4 separate regions of the Homo sapiens genome follow, and all the other regions are linked to region 2. The links are contacts of gene promoters, found by promoter capture Hi-C in blood cells and fetal thymus (Javierre and others, 2016). All regions are on one chromosome and are shown on one strand. The core of a region is centred on a gene start or on the middle of the fragment in contact, and the rest is flanking DNA. Distances in the headings are between cores, read along the strand shown. Region 1 overlaps DNAH1 (dynein axonemal heavy chain 1). Region 2 holds the start of TLR9 (toll like receptor 9). Region 3 has its middle 16 kb from the start of SEMA3G. Region 4 holds the start of ACY1 (aminoacylase 1).

Region 1 (2,700 bases), core at 143-2,642, 140 kb before region 2:
ATTCTGCATCCTTTGGTCACTGTCCCAGCACATGGCCAGGGGCAGGAGGGCCCTCTAGTTGTGCTGGAAAAGTGAATGAAGGAGTTTCCCATCTGTGCAACAATCAGCTTGGCCTTGATGGCCCTTGAGCTTCCTTCTAACATTCTCCCATAACATCTCTCCAGACCCGTCTTTCTGGCCACACCACCATGCTTTTTCCCCCAGCCTGTTTCTCTTCATTACACAGTAAGTGAGTTGGAAATAGTTAAATTAATCATTCTGCCCCATGGTGCCCAACCAAGAGGACTCCATCTAGACCCAACCCATAGACTAGCATATGTTCCAGAAATCTCGGACTTGGAGCTGCATGAAGAGGCTGGGCTTGACTTTGGGTCATTTCTATTTGGGAAGAGTTGAGTGCATTTCCAAAACCATGTGGGATAGTTGCTCTGATTGGGGGTGGGGAGCATTTTGGAAAGAAGGGTGTGTGGGAGCGCCGGCACCCAGGAGTGCACTGTGATGAACTGCCACTGCTTTTCCTGGTAACAGGCTGCATCTCTTCTAGCTCATAGATTTTGGTGGACTGCATCTGGCCAAAGGTAGTACTGATTACCCCTGGCCACAGTGATTGGTGTTCATGGATGAGCAGGTGACCCAGAGAAGGCCCATTAGGGTGACAACAGGGATTTTTTTCTGAAATCATGATGGAAGACAAACTAAGTTGCTAGCATGTCAGCCCAGAGGTGGGACTCGTCTCTGCTGCTGCAAAGTGGGGGCCTGTTTGGGAACCAAGCTGAACAGGAAAGCTCATCCACCAGCACTGGTGCCTGGGCCACCCCATCTGTCCTTGGAATCTGGGCTCAGCAAGCTGAGTGGAAGGATGGTGGTGCTGGGAGGCTCGGAGGGCCTGGCTGTCCTACTCTGGTCCCCACAAGGCCCAGGTGCACTTGCTCCCCAGCCTGGGGTTCTGAAGCTCTTGGTGCCCTAATGATCAAGGCCCTTGCACCTGAAGTAGCCACACAGGCATCTGTTCCTGGCTCCTGCTCCAGCGCTGCTGTGTACTGCATGAGCCTGGCCAGACCTTTAGCTACCTAGGACCTCGGTGTCCTCAGCTGACAAATGGGCATGTAACTCCTATCTCCAAGGGTTGCTGGGAGAAGCCGACAAGGTAATGCCTGTAAAGCACCGGGCATAGAGCCTGGCCCTCAGCAGGTGCCCTGGAGGCTGGGAGCAGGCAGAAGTTTTCAGACCCTGGAAACCCATCAGGGCAGGACCACACCTGGGAGCTGAGCTGCTCAGAAGACAGCTTGAAGGTGGTTGTGATCTTCTTAGCCAGCACACTGGCCTCATTAAAGCCAAAGGAATAGAGGGAGATCTCAGTGATCATGGCGTAATCTGGAACCATCATGGCCACGGGTCGGAAGAGCGCCTGGGACACACAGTGCACATGTGAACAGCAAACAGAGCTCACCCCCAGAGCACCCCCAGCTTCATCCGGCCCTCCTCCCTAACACGCTGGGACTCCCTGCTGCACCAAGCCTGCCACAGCTGAGGCTTTCACTCCCCTGAGACTGGTAGCTCTGCCATTAGAGTGGATCCTTGGTGTTGATCCAAACCTGCCCCCACATGACTCCCAGGAGATGCCCCTCTTGGCTCCTGTTTTCCTGTTTCTCCTGAAGGCCCAGGGTGAACAGGTCTCATTAGATTCCCCCTCCACACCACATCCATAGGCAGCCTGACTTCTCCCATGCCCTGAGGACAAGTCTGAGGCCCTGAGGCCTCCCCTCCATGGCTAAGGGGCTACCATAGGGAATCACAGTCCCTGGAGTCCAAGCAACTGTGTCCTTGCATAAGTGGCTTAGCATCTCTGAACTCAGGCTAGAGCTCTGGTGCTTCCTGGGCCACTCTGGGCCTGCACTTGCCTTCAGATTGTCAGGCAGCTCCGTGCGGCCAGCGTAGCCCGGGTTCATGGTGATAAACACTGCGCAGGATGGCACCAGTGGGATCTCCACACCCTCAAACATGAAGCGTTCCACCTGCAGTGGGGAGAGGCTGACTTGCCTGGGACTAGGGTGCCCAGCCTTGTCCCCTCCTCTGAGTGGGCCCCTTGTCCCCTGTTGATGCCCCTGTCCTGGCTGTAGCTGGTAGGCCAGGCCTGGACCCCTGATCATGGGTTGTATCCTCTCTCAGGATCTGGCCTGAAACCTCAGGCCCCAGTGGCTACCCATGGCCTTCCAGCTCCTGGCTTCAGGCCCTTGGAGGTCTCCACATCTCCTGCTTCCCACTCGCTCCACCCCCAATTCCCCAGCTCCAGCCAAGCTCAGCCTGACTAGGGGAAGTGGGGGAGGGGATAACTGCTAGCCTCTCAGCTCCTGTCCCCAGAACAAGGTCCCTGGCCGCCCTGCACGTGGCTAGAGAAAGGACCAATGCCTGGGGCTTTCCATAAAGGTCAGGATGTAATGAGGAGGGGACCCCTTCATCCCCCGCAGCTTGGCCTGGGAGCTGCCCACAGACTGGGGTTAGGGTGTGCCCCCGGGACAAGAGAGGCTGGACCCAGGGTGGACCTTAGCGCCTGGCTTCTCAGCCTGCAATGGGGAGCAGTATGGCGGCGTGAGTATGGCAGATCTGAGGGAGTAAGGTGGGTCCCCCGGGCTCACCCGCTGCTGCTGCGCCTTCTGGATGGTGGTGATCTGCTGCGCCACCACAGACAGCACCTCGATG
Region 2 (2,700 bases), core at 21-2,520:
GAAACATAGACCAGGCAAAGGAGCTCAGGAGTGCCAGATCTGGGGTGGGAGGTTTGTAAGAAGGCTGGATGGCCCTGTTGAGAGGGTGACATGGGAGCAGAGACATAATGGAGGCAAAGGAGGGGTCATATGAGACTTGGGGGAGTTTTCAGGCAGAGGGAACAGCACATCCCAAGGCCCTGAGGCAGGAGAATGCCCAGGGGCTACACAGTCAACTGCAAGCAGGCCAGTGGGCCTGGAGAGCACTCAGGGGAACAGCGGGTGGCAGGTCCCATAGGGCCTTGTTGGCCATCTGTGGACTGTGGCTTTGACTCCAGAGTCAGCCAGGGAGGGGTCTGAGCAGAGGAGGGACCTAGTGTGACTTAGGTTTGAACAGTTCCCTCTAGGGGCTGAATGTGACCAGCCCCTGGAGGGCAGAGAGCAGGGCAGGACAGCCAGAAGGGAGGTGGCACCTGCATGGGTCTAGGAGAGAGGATGGGGGCTGGTGGACATGGGGACGGTGGGCTGTGGGCACACCCTTCAGCATGGTGGACCCAGCAGAACTTGCTGAGGGGCCCGGGGTCACCCAAGGCTTTGGGCCCGAGGAATCTGAGTCTCCTCACCTAGATCAGAAGGAGAGTGGGAAGAACTGATGGGGAGGACTGGCTGGCGGCCCTGCTGGGCCAGCACACACCTGGCCTCTAGGAGCCCCATCTGGAGTGACGTGGTGTGTGCTCTGATGGGGCCCCAGGGGCTCTGGGAATGTGGAGGAGGAGGTCTTGTTTCCGGAAGATGTTGCAAGGCTGTGGTGAAGGCAGGTGCAGCCTAGCCTCCTGCTCAAGCTACACCCTGGCCCTCCACGCATGAGGCCCTGCAGAACTCTGGAGATGGTGCCTACAAGGGCAGAAAAGGACAAGTCGGCAGCCGCTGTCCTGAGGGCACCAGCTGTGGTGCAGGAGCCAAGACCTGAGGGTGGAAGTGTCCTCTTAGAATGGGGAGTGCCCAGCAAGGTGTACCCGCTACTGGTGCTATCCAGAATTCCCATCTCTCCCTGCTCTCTGCCTGAGCTCTGGGCCTTAGCTCCTCCCTGGGCTTGGTAGAGGACAGGTGTGAGGCCCTCATGGGATGTAGGCTGTCTGAGAGGGGAGTGGAAAGAGGAAGGGGTGAAGGAGCTGTCTGCCATTTGACTATGCAAATGGCCTTTGACTCATGGGACCCTGTCCTCCTCACTGGGGGCAGGGTGGAGTGGAGGGGGAGCTACTAGGCTGGTATAAAAATCTTACTTCCTCTATTCTCTGAGCCGCTGCTGCCCCTGTGGGAAGGGACCTCGAGTGTGAAGCATCCTTCCCTGTAGCTGCTGTCCAGTCTGCCCGCCAGACCCTCTGGAGAAGCCCCTGCCCCCCAGCATGGTAGGACAACAGCTCTCAGTCCCCTGGGGAAGGGGATATCCTGGGAAGGGGTGGGGAAAGAAGTGGGCTTGGCAGCTGCAAGCAACAGTGACGGGTTGTCACCCACATGGCCCTGGGGACACTCACTGAATCCTGAAGACTTCAGAGCCGAAGCCCTCTTCTTTTTTCTTTTTTTTTTTTTTTGAGACGGAGTTTCGCTCTTGTTGCCCAGGCTGGAGTGCAGTGGCTTGATCTCAGCTCACTGCAATCTCCACCTCCCGGGTTCAAGTGATTCTCCTGCCTCAGCCTCCCAAGTAGCTGGGATTATGGCTTGCGCCACCATGCCTGGCTAATTTTGTATTTTTAGTAGAGCCAGGGTTTCTCCATGTTGGTCAGGCTGGTCTTGAACTCCAGACCTCAGGTGATCTGCCCACTTCGGCTTCCCAAACTGCTGGGATTACAGGTGTGAGCCACCGTGCCCAGCCACTGAAGCCCTCTTCTGAGCAATGAGACCCAAACCCCCAGAGGGGACGAGGAGACTGAGGCACTGATGGAGCTGGGGCTGGAGCCTGGGTTTGGGTCTCACTGGGCCTGTAGCTTGGGGCTGGCTCTGTCTGGCACTTTGCAGGCCACCCCTCTCTCCATCTGTTCTGACCCATAAGGCAAAGGCTCTCGGGCTAGGTGAGGCAGGCAGAGAGTGATGGAGCTGTGCAGTGCCCTCTGGCCAGGGTCCCTGGGAGGCAGCCGGCCTGGGCCATAGTGGGAGACTCTCACACCTGCCTGAATCTTGGCCGAAGGAAAAGGAAGGGGTTGTGGGGTGGCTGGTGGAGGGCAGAGAGCGGATTTCAGGGCAGCTGGAGGGGAGGGAGCCAGCTGCCACCTTGCTCAGGAGCAGGAAGGGAAAGTCGGGGAGAGACCAGGGGGGGCCGTGGGCCACCTTGCCTGGCCTGGTATAGCCAGGGATTGGTTAAGTGAAAGCTGTAGATCATAAGTCTGGATTCTAGGTCTCAGTCCTGGTTCTGAAGCCTAATTCTGAGTCCAAGACTGGGTCTGAGACTGAGTTCAGGTTCCCCACAAGCCATGGGGGATGGGAATGGGGCTTGGCAGCCAGGAAGAACTTCTGCAGGTAGGGCTTGGAGAGAGGGGTTGGAAGATGCTAGAAGATGCCCATGAAGTGGAGTGGGTGGAGGTAGAGCTGGGGGCCGGCCACTCACACAGCCCTCCCACCCCCACAGGGTTTCTGCCGCAGCGCCCTGCACCCGCTGTCTCTCCTGGTGCAGGCCATCATGCTGGCCATGACCCTGGCCCTGGGTACCTTGCCTGCCTTCCTACC
Region 3 (2,700 bases), core at 134-2,633, 200 kb before region 2:
CCAAAAGGGCCTGTTTCACTGCTGTGAGGAATGACCAGGGCAAAGGGACAGTTGCAGACTGATAGGATTCCAAAGTGACTCAACAGAGGCCTGGAACAGAGTCCAGGTGTCTACCACCAAATAGAGGGGACTGGACTCTGGACACATGAAGCCCAGATTGATGGAGGGCGAGCGGGCTCTGCTCTCACAGATGAAGGCATGGGGAATGACGTGGCACACCAGCCACTTGCTCTGTGGACATGATCTCATCTGTTCACCCCCCCACTCCTGCCCCCAACTGATAAGAATCTGGTGATGTTTCCTGTAGTCCAAGGGTCTCAGACAATGGTGTGAACGGCTGGCCCTACTGGAAAGGACATTGTTCAGGGAAGAAAAAACAACACACCAGCACAAAGCCAGGGCAGGACCTGCTGAAATGTAAGGGCCTGTTTACAAACCCATGATTTCTAAGGGGAAGAACACAATGGAGAATTGTTTTGGCGAGGCTGGTGTCTCCTCCAGTAGGCTCCTGGGGGCTGGGGATGGCTTTGATGGTCCAGACAGGTCTCAGATGCTCTGAAAAGGATGGATACTAATGGCGCGGATGCCTTCCTGTTTATTAGGGGTGTGTGCAGGGCAGGGTCAAGAAGCCAGTTTACACCAAAGACAAGGGGAAGGGGCTCCTGGGGCTTACCCCTTCCATCTGGACCTCATGCTGTCATGTTGCTCAGGGATCCCAGGGTTAGAGCAGGTTTGCTAGGGAGAAGTGAGGGCAAGGGTTTTTTGTTTTGGGAAAAAAATCAGTTCTTCAGTTTTTCTGTCATTTTTTGGAAAAATGTACAAGCCATGACACCTTTGCAAATAGCCAGCTCCTTTGGAATGGAGCTCCCTGGCTTAGTCACTAGGGAGACTTCTCACACCTGGGGGCCCCCATGATGCTGTGACTGGGAGCACATGGGAAACTGATGCTGTCTCCCTGGGGTCAGGGCCAGTGGAGGTGCTGCTTCTCATAGCATCCTCCCACCCTGCCCATAGAGGCTAGAGCCTTTGAGCCACCGTTTGAGCCACCACCCAGAGGTCCTGATGGCAGTGAGTGTGCATTCGTGTGGACAGGTACCTGTGCATGTGTGCATGTGGGAGGAGGGTGGGGCAGAAAAGGAATAGAACCATATCACACATTCCCCCTTGGGACTGGCAGTCGCCATTTTTGGTGGAGGAGAGGGCATCTGGATGCCTCTCAATGAGTAATTGGGAGATATTTTTGGTGGGTTAGGAGAGCCACTTTGGGTCTGGAGAGACTATGAAGGCAGTCTTGTCTAAGGATTTGACCTGTGACGGGGAGCTTTCAAACTCATCTCTAACCCCAACAGGAACGTGCCTCATGAATAAACTCGAACAGATGTGTTTAGAACAATTGAGGCGCAATAAGTCTTATGTAATCCCAAAACAGAAGCAAGATTTTCATAAGCCTTTCCCAGCCTTCCAGGTCTGAGGGTTTATAATCTTCATCGACATGCTAACAGTGCCCTCTGGTGTTTGGCAGCAAAACACAGGCTTATGAATACAGGGTATGGAGCATCCATCAGTTCTGTAGACATTAAACTGCCTCTGAACGTGGAGTCCTGGGCCAGGCATCATGAGGGGAAGAAAGGTTAATAAGACAGACAGGTCCCTGGAGCTTCTGATCTAGCAGGAAAGACAGACCCATAACTGTAGGACAGACAGAGAATGACATGGGCTATAACAGGGGGTACAAACAGAGACAGTAAGAGTGCCTAGAGATGAAGAAGTAGCCCTTAGGCTGTGTTTAACAGGCTGAAGATGGATGCCAGGACTCTCCAGGCTGAGCACCCCAGGCCCGGGCCCAGTGTTCTGAGGCAGCCAGAGAAGAAGGCCTGTGGGTGGGATGTCCTGGGAGATGCAGCTATGGAAGGCCCTGTTTGTAGAAGGTCTTGAATGCCAATCTCAGCAGGGCCATCCTGAGCAAAGAGTTAGCACATGTTTTATGGTAACTGGCAGAAGGGAAAAGGGTGGATGTGTCAGAGAAGCAAGTGGACACAGGAAACCATGCAGACTTTTGCTGCCCATCCTATGAGGCATCAAGGTCTGAGCTGAGCACTGACAATGGGAAGGAGAGGAAGGCAAACATTTGAAAAACAGTCGAACTGACAACAAAGAGGTTGGCTGAACAGAGAGGGAAGCTGAAGGAAAATCTGAGGTTTCTGGCCTTAGTTTACGGTTCCCGTAAAGGTAATGATTAGAGGAAGGGGAGCAGGTGCTTTGGGAAAGTTTTATTTAACATCTATTTCTACTATCCCTAAGTGAACTGATTTGTCCCAGCTCCTAAGTTATGAAACAGTAATTAATTCTAATAAGACACATCAGTTATGAAAATAGGTATTAAAAATTTTAAACATGTGTTTGTCATGAAACAGGCATTTAAAAGAAGATGAGCTTGGGGCATCTTGCAGTGTCAGAAAGTAAAAAAGTGCTCAAAAACAAAACAAAACAAAACCAGACACACAGTGATGGGGATGTGTGAAAAGGACACATGAACACCCAGTGGCCAAAGCAATTTGAGCAACAAAATAAAGTATTATTACATTGTAACCCAAAGTCCAGGAGTCCATACTAAATGATTGAATAGGCTGTGCATGGTGGCTCACGCCTGTAATCCCAGCATTTTGGGGGGCCGAGGTGGGTGGATCACCTGAAGTCAGG
Region 4 (2,700 bases), core at 26-2,525, 240 kb after region 2:
AGGGTCTCACTCTGTCACCAAGGCAGGAGTGAAGTGGTGCGATCTCGGCTCACTGCAGCCTCAACCTCCCAGGCTCAAGCGATCCTCCCACCTCAACCTCTGGAGTAGCTGGGACTACAGGTGTGCCACCATTCCTGACTAATTTTTGTATTTTTTCTGTAGAGACAGAGTCTTGCCATGTTGCTCAAGCTAGTCTTGAACTCCTGGGCCCAAGCAATCTGCCAGCCTCAACCTCCTGAAGTGCTGGGATAACAGGCAGGAGCCACCTCCCAGGCCCTAGCCACCAAGCTTGACTCCCTAAGGGCTGTGGCCTTTGTCCAGCCCCAGTGGGCTTCTGGAGGGCCTCTCCTTTCCCTGTGGCTGCCTCAGGCTTCCCCCACCACTCCTGCCCTGGAGAGTGAGGTGAAGTTTTTCTTTAACCAGCTGCCAGGAGTAACCTTGGTCAGCAGCAGAGTCTCTGGGGAAAGGGTTCCTCCCTAACCTGGAGGGGCTGCCTCAGTCTATTTACTTGGGGAATGGCTGGAGGGGTTGGGGAGCCATTTGGGACAGCAGAGTGGGGCTCAGCTGGGTGACAGGGGTTGGAGGCTGGTTTAGAGCACAGTCCCCGTCCCTTAGGCCCCGTCACAGGCTCTGGAACCACCGTCTTCTCACCATAGTCAGGCTTGGGCTGGACAGTGCGGATACGCAGGTACTGGCGGAAGAGCGTCACCGATGGGTGCTCCTCCTCGGGACCCTTGCTGGTCATGGCGCTGCGCGTGGTGAGCTGGGGGCAAAGTGAATGGCTAACTACCCCTCCAAGACCCTGGAAATGGTGAGCTCCTGCACACAGCCTGTCCCCACGGCGGCTCCCGGACTTCCCACAGGGGTAGGATACCGTGTTTCGGAGCCCCCATTAAGGAGCACCCATTCTGTTTCAGGCGCTGGGCTGTCTGCTTCCAGCACATTTCCTTATTTAATCCCCAAAAGAGCCCCATGAAGTTTGTGCTCAGAATGCCCACTTTACAGAGGAGAAAGCTGAGAGGCTCAGAGAGGTTCAAGGACAGCTCATAGAGTAGCTGAGCAAGGTTTGAACCCAGACTTGTACTCCCCCCGCCCTCCTAAAAAAAAAAAAAGGCAAAAACAAAAACAAAAAACAAACAAGAAAAACCCCAACGCCTCCCAGTTGCCCGGCTTTCAAGCCACGGAGCCCCAGTCCCTCTATCCCTCCCCAGGGCCCCCACCTCACTCTCCTGTCGCTGGGCTCACGCTCGCCTCTCAGCGCCCTTCCCTGACTGTGGCCTGGACTTAGGGTCCAGCGAGGTCGCCTGCGAGGTCGCAGGCTCAGGACCGCCCCGGTCCGCCCACCACGTGGCCGAGGCCGGATGTCGGGGCGGAGACCGAAGACCGTCAGTGAGGGCCGTCCCGGCGCCAGCGGCCGCGTCGGCGCGGATGTCCCCGCCCGCCTCTGGTTCGGGCCTCAGCGAGATTACTGGAGGATTAGATCCGGATCCCGTCCCCGGGCAGCGGCCGCCGCGGCCAGCGCCGCCCCGCGAGTTGCGAGCTCCGGGCTGGCCCTGCTCTGACAGGCTCGCCCCGCCCCACACGACACGCCTGCCACTCCTGCCCCCAGGTATGCGCCGGGAGCTCAGGACGGTCCCGTCCCCTAAGGGCGCCTCCTCCTTCAGCCCCCGGATAGGGCGGGAGGAAAGGGGGCCGCCCCGAGGCTCTCAAGATGCAGAGCTGCAAAGCCCTGGGCCTGCGCCCTCGCCCTCCTCGGCAAGTCTCCAACGGCTCCCCACTGCAGGCCTCAGCCCCTCGGGGAGGTCCTCCCTGACGCCTCAGCTCCACTTGTACTGAAGTTATTGGCCAATGTCTGTCTGCCCACACTGAACTCCAGGAGGCTGTGAGCTCCACTTCCTGCAAGGTTCTGCCCGGGGCCGTGCCGAGCCCGGACAGTGCCTAGAATGGGAATGAATGCATGGACAAGAGCACGTGTGACGGTTTAAGCGTGCCACTGCGTGTGCAGTCTATCAGTGGATATGATTGTGTATGTGACAGTGTGAGATGGTGGGTGGGTGTGATGAAGTCACTGTGAATGGATGTAATTGTGACCCTGGATGGACAGTGTGAGGAAACTGGCTCTTCTGCAGCCACCAGAGGGGGAGGCTAAACAGGCACAGGTGTACCACTGGCCCCCTGCAGGCCACAGCTGCAGTTGCCCACTTGTGCCCCAGCTGCCCTTTGTACTCCCAGCCAGGTCTGCCCTCTGCTCCAGGGGCTGAGTCAGCTTGGGGAAGGGTGAGGGACAAAGACTTCAATCTCTAGGCCAAGGAGGCACGCTGTGGGAAGGGTTCTGTCCCACCTTTCCTGAGGTTTAAGTCTTGGCTGCTCACACATAACATGGGGGCAAATGGACTTTAACTCATAACAATGCTGGATAATTCTTTATTTAGTTATTTTTTTGATACAGAGTCTCACTCTGTCATGCGGGCAAATAGATTTTAACTCACAACAATGCTGGCTAATTATTTACCTATTTATTCATGCGGGCAAATAGACTTTAACTCATAACAATGCTGGCTAATTATTTAGCTATTTATTTTTTTGAGATGGAGTCTCACTCTGCTGCCCAGGCTGGAGTGCAGTGGCTCCTTCTCGGCTCGCTGAAAACTCCGCCTCCTGGGTTCAAGTGATTCTCCTGCCTCAGCCTCCAGAGTAGCT

The links. The method cuts DNA at HindIII sites, captures the fragments that hold promoters and counts their contacts. A CHiCAGO score of 5 or more calls a contact.
Region 1: a fragment that was not itself captured here is called in contact with the fragment with the promoter of TLR9 in region 2 in 11 of 17 cell types (M0 macrophages, M1 macrophages, naive CD4 T cells and 8 more); the score reaches 8.1 in M0 macrophages.
Region 3: a contact is called between a fragment that was not itself captured here and the fragment with the promoter of TLR9 in region 2, in 3 of 17 cell types (naive CD4 T cells, M2 macrophages and erythroblasts). The highest score is 5.3, in naive CD4 T cells.
Region 4: a contact is called between the fragment with the promoter of ACY1 here and the fragment with the promoter of TLR9 in region 2, in 1 of 17 cell types (M1 macrophages). The highest score is 5.3, in M1 macrophages.

The regions. Positions count from the first base shown.
Region 1 is chr3:52,361,703-52,364,402 of GRCh38, reverse strand. It overlaps DNAH1 (dynein axonemal heavy chain 1), which reads right to left. Exons shown (of 78, transcript NM_015512.5): 30 at 2,637-2,700; 31 at 1,902-2,015; 32 at 1,259-1,408. Among named protein-coding and RNA genes, the nearest start is that of DNAH1, 47 kb to the right of the region's middle. RefSeq lists an enhancer at 1,559-2,112. The HindIII fragment of the contact is 7,102 bases long and covers 1-2,700 here.
Region 2 is chr3:52,224,215-52,226,914 of GRCh38, reverse strand. It overlaps TLR9 (toll like receptor 9), which reads left to right and starts at 1,270. Exons shown (of 2, transcript NM_017442.4): 1 at 1,270-1,388; 2 at 2,603-2,700. The coding sequence starts at 1,386. RefSeq lists enhancers at 137-636, 791-880, 637-1,138, 1,391-1,490. The HindIII fragment of the contact is 14,815 bases long and covers 1-2,700 here.
Region 3 is chr3:52,427,522-52,430,221 of GRCh38, reverse strand. No RefSeq gene overlaps it. Among named protein-coding and RNA genes, the nearest start is that of SEMA3G, 16 kb to the left of the region's middle. RefSeq lists a silencer at 89-249 and enhancers at 1,429-1,528, 1-2,256. The HindIII fragment of the contact is 5,128 bases long and covers 1-2,700 here.
Region 4 is chr3:51,982,110-51,984,809 of GRCh38, reverse strand. It overlaps ACY1 (aminoacylase 1), which reads right to left and starts at 1,275. Exons shown (of 15, transcript NM_000666.3): 1 at 1,221-1,275; 2 at 652-763. The coding sequence starts at 745. ABHD14A-ACY1 (ABHD14A-ACY1 readthrough) reads right to left here. Exons shown (of 17, transcript NM_001316331.2): 4 at 652-763. RefSeq lists a silencer at 1,241-1,690. The HindIII fragment of the contact is 7,715 bases long and covers 291-2,700 here.